Regions from separate parts of the Homo sapiens genome. Here region 2 is linked to region 1. Evidence: promoter capture Hi-C in human tissues and cell types (Jung and others, 2019). All regions are on one chromosome and are shown on one strand. The core of a region is centred on a gene start or on the middle of the fragment in contact, and the rest is flanking DNA. Distances in the headings are between cores, read along the strand shown.

Region 1 (3,848 bases), core at 740-3,239:
TCAACTGGTACTTAAAGAGCTGGGTTGAGCATTCTGGGGCCACATCCAGGCTCCAGAGGGAAGAGCTCTGGGGTCAACTAGGGATGTCCACCATGGATGGAGTGAGGGAGGGGGGATAGAAGGAGCTCCAGGAAGATGAATACACTTTCCATCTAGGATCTGATGTCTCAGTCATTCAGGCACAGAGTGTGTGGTAGGCAGGACCTACTGCTCTGAGGAACAGATCCTCCCAAGAAGCCAAGAGGACCCAGAAGACCCAGGAATTGAATCCAATCCAACACATAGTCCATTTACATAGGCATGACAACTCCAATGCTGACATTTCACAGACGGAGAAACAGAGCTTCAGAGAGAGGAACCCAGCAAGTTAGTTACAGACCTGACAATGGGCATCATCATCAACTTTTTTCCTTCCTCAGAAACTAACCTTCGCACTGTCAAGTTTAAGTCTGATAGGTTATCAAAGGCCCAGGGAAGAGGGATCATCTAGGTGAACTTTGAGAAGCAGATCTTGGAGGAACAAAGGCAATCCCCTCTGCACCAGGGCCATCAGGGAGGCAACCCCAGCTCTGGAAACAGGCAGTCTGGGCTGTGAGCTGGTGTTGGCAAGGCCTGGTCTTCAGAACAGACCTATCCTAGGAGCCTGAAGGGCCCAACACGTCCAGCAATGCTGTTAACTGCCAGGAGGAAATATGAAGAGGAAGCTAGACTATGATGAGGAAATTCAAATATCTGCCTTTGAAAGTTAAAAAAATATTTGATTCATAAAACTGTCACATAATGCTGAACAATTAAAACTGGCAGACACAGACTCAGAAACACCCCTTGAATACCTGTGAGTGTAGGACCCCTGGTTCTGCTGACTTGCTCATTACCGGGCCCCAGCATCTAAGACAAGTTCTTGCAGAGGGAGTTTGCTGCTCACTATATTGAGGTCGTGGGGGACACATTATCTTACTTTCTTTTTTTTTTGAGACAGGGTCTCACTCTGTTGCCCAGCCTGCAGTGCAGTGGCACCATCTTGGCTCACTGTAGCCTCTACCTCCTAAGCTCAAGCGATCCTCTCACCTCAGCCTCCCAAGTAGCTGGGACTTTGGGTGTTCCCCACCATGCCTAGCTAATTGTTGTATTTTTTTGTAGAGACGGGGTTTTGCCACATTGCCCAGGCTGGTCTCAAACTCCTGAGCTCAAGAATTCCACCCCCTTCAGCCTCCCAAAATGCTGGGATTAGAGGCGTGAGCCACTGTGCCCGACCCACATTTTCTGAGTCTACTGTTTACAAGTCCCCACTTGAGATGTGTGGTGGGAGAACAGCACACGTGGTCTCACCAACTCCTCACAGCAAGGCTGTGAGATAATTTGCATTATAATCCCCATTACACAGATCAGAAAACAGAGGTACCAAGGGCAAATTTTCTTGCTCAAGGTCATATAGCTGTTTTCACTTGAGCCAGAGCTGCTCTTGCCCTCAAGTGCTTGGGGTGGGAATCAGGCGAGGATGCAGCCGGTGGGGGCCTCTCACTCCTTCCCACGCAGGCCACAATTCCCAACTATGCCCAGAAACGTCTCTGGATCCATGGAATGTGCATGGGGTGCAAGGAGATTTTCTTTTTTCTGCCCCTGCCTTCCTGTGCCTGCCTCCTTCAGTCCTCCGAGGCACAGGGGTGAGACCTGGCCCCAGCCCAGGAGACAGCGCCTGAGCCAGCCTGGGCCATGGCCTTGCTGGGTGGCTTAAAGCTGGCTTTTTCATCCTGGGCCTCATGAATCCACACGAAGAGTTCATGTGTTCATGGTGGACTATCCAGCTGTAAAATCCTAACAATCGATGATCAAACGTCATCCCACAGACCCGTGTTTCTTGAAGCCCCCCTCATGAGCCCTGGTGTCCCAAGGCCCCAGGCTCTGCCCACTTACCTGCCATGTGAAGGCCAGCTGGACTCCTCTGTTCCTCCACACAGCAGTGTGTGCACCGTCAGGACAGTGTGGCGCGTCACAGCAGCCAGCCAGACCAATTTTAACAAGGAAAACCTTGGGACACTCCTAGGCAGGAAAGTCAGAATTCAAAAGAGGAGGCGTGGCCCTCCACCCTAGCAGCGACACCCACGAGACACAAAATCATCCTGTAATTGCACCTAGAGGGGTTCACTGTGGGAGTGGCTCCTGCCAAGAGACCTTGGAAACACGGAGTTGCGAATGGGACTGTGGAGAAACTGAGGCTCAGAAAGGTCACAAGCCTGGCAAGAAAAAGAACGGGGAAAGAGAGAAGACTGAGGGAACTCGGATTTATGGTTGGCCATTCTTAGCCCTCACAACAACCCTCAAATGAGAAAAAACAGGCTCAGCGCCAGGACCCCGAAGTACATGGTTGCACGCTGCAGTGCCGGGTCAGTCTGTGGCTCCCTCTCCCCTCCTGGGTGAGAGCAGAAGACTCCTGGGCCCACAGCTCCACTCTGTTCTGCAGGCATCTAAAGAGGCAGAGGTCCATGATCCTCCTTCAGGGCCACTAGACTTCCTTGGTGGACACTAGACTCTTGAGAGGAGGTAGATAAGAAAAAGGGGAGAGCTGGTTCTGACTCAGAAGCTAGGCCCATCTGCCCTGACTTTGTGAGTGGCCTCCAGCCAGGAGCTTAGAGGCCTGGTGGCCATGGGTGTCCCGTGACCTTGGACAAGACCTCTCCCCTCCTGGAACCCTGGTGTTTCTACCTACAAACTAAAGGGATTGGACTCAATTATTCTTCAGGGCCATTCCAGCTCAAAGTCTAAGATTCTGGGCTTGAAGGTGCTGGAATTCAAGGCATCTGAGGTCTTTTGTTAATGAAATAGAGGGGATTTTATTTTCATGGAAGCCGGTGGGGTAGGTTTCTTTTTGCCGGAGAAATGCTTTGATGGATGACTTGGGGCTATCGAAGGCTGGATGTGGCCTGGGCCAGTGAGGAAGGGGAAGTGGGAGGGGGTAGAATCGAGGGAAAGAGACAAGGAAGGGTAAGGAGACAACCGTGTGCTGAGCACAGTAGGATGAGGCCGCTCCCTGGGATCACCCCAACATTCAGGAAACTGCATAAAAACCCCAAAGTGTTTGATGTGGTTGGATTTCTTACAGAAAGTGGCAAAGAGGCTGAGTTCTGCTTCCTGGTTTCACGCAGATCAAGCGTCTTTAATGAGCTGTCTGCAGACCCACATAGCCTTATAATTACTGACATCTGGCAGCAGCCCAGGGCAGCTCCTTCCTCAACACCCTGCAGGCTGCTGCCCTGTAGACCCTGGGCCCTGCTGAAGCTGCTTTTCTGCCTATGCAGGGTCAGGCTCCTCCCCACTAATGATGGTCTTATTCAGGGCCCTTTTATCTTTCATCCTGGGCTTGCTTGGACGGGAGCTCCCAGAAGACAGGGCATCAAAATCACTGCCTGCCCCACTGCTCGAGACCCCAAATAATAATTCATACTCCTCGTTTTTTTTTTTTGAGACAGGGTCTCGCTCTGTCACCTAGGGTGAAGTGCAGCGGCACGATCTCAGCTCGGTGCAACCTCTACTTCCCGGGTTCAAGCAATTCTCCTGCCTCAGCCTCCTGAGTAGCTGGGACTACAGGCGTGTGCCACCATGCCCGGCTAATTTTTTGTGTATTTTAAGTAGAGACAGTTTCGCCATGTTGGCCAGGCTGGTCTCAAACTCCTGACCTCAGGTGATCTGCCCACCTCAGCCTCCCAAAGTGCGAGATTACAAGTGAGAGCCACTGCACCCGGCCCATACTCAGTTTAGAAGTGAGCATCATAGCCTGGCAGTAGAGTCCTGGGTTCTGTTATCTCTGGGCCAAACTGGCTGTGTGACCTTCAGCAGGTCACTTACCTTCT
Region 2 (4,045 bases), core at 1,531-4,030, 98 kb after region 1:
AAAAAGAAATTGGAGGGAAAGGGATTTGTATCAGAGAAAAGGCATTCCTGCAGCAATGTGAGTATGTCCAGGGAGCAGCATACACAAAGGGCTTGGTGACATATCGCCACCTCCCTGATTCACTTCCTGCCGCACCTACCTACTGTCATGCTTACTACCAAGCTCTTCCATATCTTTTCAAATAAGGCAGCTATGAAAAAGTGCAAAGTATGCATTTTCCATTCTGATTTTATCTTATTACATACTGAATTAGGTAAATAAAAATGGATTCAGCACTAGAGGACTTTAGTGAATTATTTAATAGTTTGAGAATGTATTGGCTGTTGGCTGGATTTAATTAGAAATTTTGGTCTTCACCAGATGGATCCAACACTAAAGGCTCTTTAAGTCTCAAGGACAAAGTTGGAATTTCCCATGCAGTAAATTTAGATCTTCGTTTCATGCATCCATAAAGACAGCTATAAATTTCAGAGGCCCAAGGCTTGTCCCAGCATAACATGGGCCTTCACAACAAGTAAATAAATAACTTGAAACTGGAAGGGTGACTTCAAATGATGCTACCACCCTCTCTACTGGAAGACAGTGTGGACAACAACAGGAAGTGGAGGATGTCTGGGAAACGTCTCTGGTCACCTCTTTGGAAAGCAAAAGTCTGGAAAGTCCAAACAAGGTTTGCTCTTAGAGATATGGCAATATTTATAGGACTTGTACACAGGAAACATGAAAGGAAATGGAATTATTCCTTTATGTTCCTTACAATATGAGACCAGATAAGTTCCTAGCCACTCTCTACTTTCAACAGGCCCCAAACACTTGGTCTCTCCTGACCTTCTACACTGTAGCAAAGTGGCTGGGAGGACTTCCTCTGGCTCAGAGTCTCTGTCCTGAATGTTTACATCTTGGTAAAACTGTGGCAGCAAGTTAGATACCTGAGAACTTAGAGTCTAGCTAGACTAGATTCTTGGGTCTGTCACTAACTCATTTGGAGACCTTGGGAAATGGTTTGGCCTAAGTCAGTAGGTCTCAGCCTTTGCTTCAACCTTCACATTATCTCATGTTCTATATGTGCTCACCAGAAACACCTCTCAGGCCAGGTGCTGTGGCTCATGCCTGTAATCCTAATGCTTTGGGAGGCCTAGGTGGGAGCATCACTTGAGCCCAGGAGTTTGAGGCTGCAGTGAGCTATGATCATGCCACTGTACTCCAGCTTGGGCAACAGAATGAGACCCTGTCTCTAAAACAAAACAAAACAAAAACATCTTTCATTAGACATAGATTGTCAATGAGTGTGGCCACCTCCACGCATTTTCTGATTCTCACTGAGATCTCTGAACAAGATGATCTTAGTGTGTTTCACGCATCCCCCTCCTTGCACTTTTAAGTCTTAGGATTCTAGATATAAATTCTCATCAAAAGAGCTTTGAAAAAAACAGGCTCCTACACAATTATGCTTGCATATACTTAGAAAGAAAGATTTAAAAGAAGATGTTAACAGTTGTTTTCTCTGGGAAAGGAACCTAGGGGCCTAATTGTTAAGGAAAAAAAGAGACTGACTCTTCACCGTATACCCTTTATTTTATTTTATTTTATTTTATTTTATTTTATTTTATTTTATTTATTTTATTTTATTTTATTTTATTTTATTTTATTTTATTTTATTTTATTTTATTTTATTTTATTTTTATTTATTTATTTTTTTTGGGAGAGGGCCTGGCTCTGTCACACAGGTTGGAGTGCAGTGGTATGATCTCAGCTCACTGGAATCTGCACCTCCTGGGCTTAAGCAATCCTCCCACCTCAGGCTCCCAAGTAGCTGGGACTACAAGTGCATGACATCATGCCTGGCTAACCTAGTAGAGAAAAATAAAATAAAATTAAAAAATATTTTTAAAAAGAAAAAACAAAAAGGGAACCTCTGGAAGAAGAGTATGGCTGAAGTGGACCTACAGGCTAAGTAGGTAGACAACTAAGAAGGTCTGTTTCCTCCCTTATTCCCTCCCTTCCTTTTCTAAACCTCTTTACTTTCTTGGAAATGACCTTCAGTGCCTGCCACGAACCAGCCACCATGATTGAGTGGGTATTAATTCAGTTTCCTGTACTTTAGTCATTCACACAGCACCTTCTTGAGTTTTGCCACATCTGCCCACCAGCTACATCATAATTAACTTAAAGTTTTTCTTTAAATTAACTCCCTTTCCCTTTTTTCTTTAACTTACCAGCTGGGCGCGGTAGCTCACACCTGTAATCCTAGCACTTTGGGAGGTTGAGGCGGGTGGATCACCTGGGGTCAGGAGTTCGAGACTAGCTGGGCCAACATGGCAAAACCCCATCTTTACTAAAAATACAAAAATTAGCTAGGCGAGGTGGTGCGTGCCTATAATCCCAGCTACTTGGGAGGCTGAGGCAGGAGAATCGCTTGAATCCAGGGAATGGAGGTTGCAATGAGCCAAGATTGCCCCACTTTACTCCAGCCTGGGTGAAAGAGCGAAACTCTGTCTCAAAATAAATAAATACATTAATTAATTAACTTACCTAACTACTTTAGTCTTGCACTAATCAATAACATTCATAAAATGATTTGGTTTGTCAATTATTTTTCTAATGCCTATGAAACTAAACATTGACTATTAGAATTTAAAATGTCTGCCCCCGTGTCTGGGTTACACGTGCCACACTCTGGAATTCACTAGCAATAACTCATTCGGTCCCTGCAACTACTCTCTGAGTAGAAATTATCTTCCTCATCCTACACATGAGAAAACTAAGCTTCAGAGGGGTTAAGTAACTTGCCCAAGGAGACAAAACTAGCAAAGGCAGAGTAAGACTTAAAACCACTCTTGTCTCCAAGGCCTGCATTCTTTCTTTTTATTTTCTTTTTAATTTTTTTTTAGACAGAGTCTCACTCTGGTGCGCAGGATAGATTGCAGAGGTGCGATCTCGGCTCACTGCAACCTCTGCCTCCCAGGTTCAAGTGATTCTCCTGCCTCAGCCTCCGGAGTAGCTGGGATTACTGGCGCCCGCCACCACCCCAGCTAATTTTTTTGTATTTTTAGTAGAGACAGGGTTTCACCATGTTGGCCAGGCTGGTCTCGAACTCCTGGCCTCAAGTGATATACTCACCTCAGCTTCCCAAAGTGCTGGGACTACAGGCGTGAGCCACCACACCCCGCCCCTGCATTCTTTCTTCTAATATTGCCCTAAAGTGGAAGGAAGGGAAAAAAAAGAGTAATACAAAAATGAGACCCGTCCACAGAGGTTCAATGCATTTGATCCAGCCCACTGGTTCAGGCCCTGCAACAAGCCAAGCCCCAGCATCCATTCTTGCCTCCCTGGCAGATGTCTTGCTTCCTCCACCACAAACAAGTCCTGTGTGGTGCGAACTTGGAGACTGATTTGTGTTTGCCAACTGGTGGCTTTGCTCTGAGCGCAGATCCCCCCGCCATGGCTCTGCTGGTGCCAAGGCTCCTAGAAGCCTTTCTAAGCCTTGCCCTTTCAGGTTCCTAACCCTGCCTTCTCACTCCACCATCCGTCAGATCCCACCTTTGTGCTACCTTCCTGCCCAGGCAGACAGGCCAAGGCTTTGCCCTCATGTTGGGGCTTGCTATTTTAGGTAGTGGATTTATGAGAGAGGGCGTTCATTCTGTAAAGTTTGAAAGCATCCTTTTATCTTCTCTTGTTACTAACACCATCTAGTTGCCTAGCACAGAGAAGACACAGAGAAGACACATTCGCTTGGCAAAGGAGGGAAGGATTCTCTGCCACCTCCCCCTTGGCCCCTTCACCTTTGGTCCCCCTACCAAAGAGGAGGCTGGGGTGTGGTCCTTCCGTGAAACTGAGAGAGCACGATTAGGGCCATGTGAGGACCTGGACTCAGTCTGCCTCCCTGCTGCATTCTCTGCCTGCCAACAGTCCACTCTGAGTTTGGTGGTAGAGGTAAGGGGTGGAAGTAGAGCGTTAGACGTAATAGAGCAAAGGAACTAATACTTATTATGGGCCTACTGTTTGTCAAACACTGCTGTTGATCCTTCATATCTGTTACCTCATC

Evidence for each region. The method cuts DNA at HindIII sites, captures the fragments that hold promoters and counts their contacts. A contact is called where the count stands out against the background at its distance.
Region 2: a contact is called between a fragment that was not itself captured here and the fragment with the promoter of TGM6 in region 1, in 2 of the 25 tissues and cell types used here (neural progenitor cells and thymus).

Annotation. Positions count from the first base shown.
Region 1 is chr20:2,379,042-2,382,889 of GRCh38, reverse strand. It overlaps TGM6 (transglutaminase 6), which reads right to left and starts at 1,989. Exons shown (of 13, transcript NM_198994.3): 1 at 1,915-1,989. The coding sequence starts at 1,921. The HindIII fragment of the contact is 30,296 bases long and covers 1-3,848 here.
Region 2 is chr20:2,281,929-2,285,973 of GRCh38, reverse strand. No RefSeq gene overlaps it. Among named protein-coding and RNA genes, the nearest start is that of TGM3, 12 kb to the left of the region's middle. The HindIII fragment of the contact is 5,447 bases long and covers 57-4,045 here.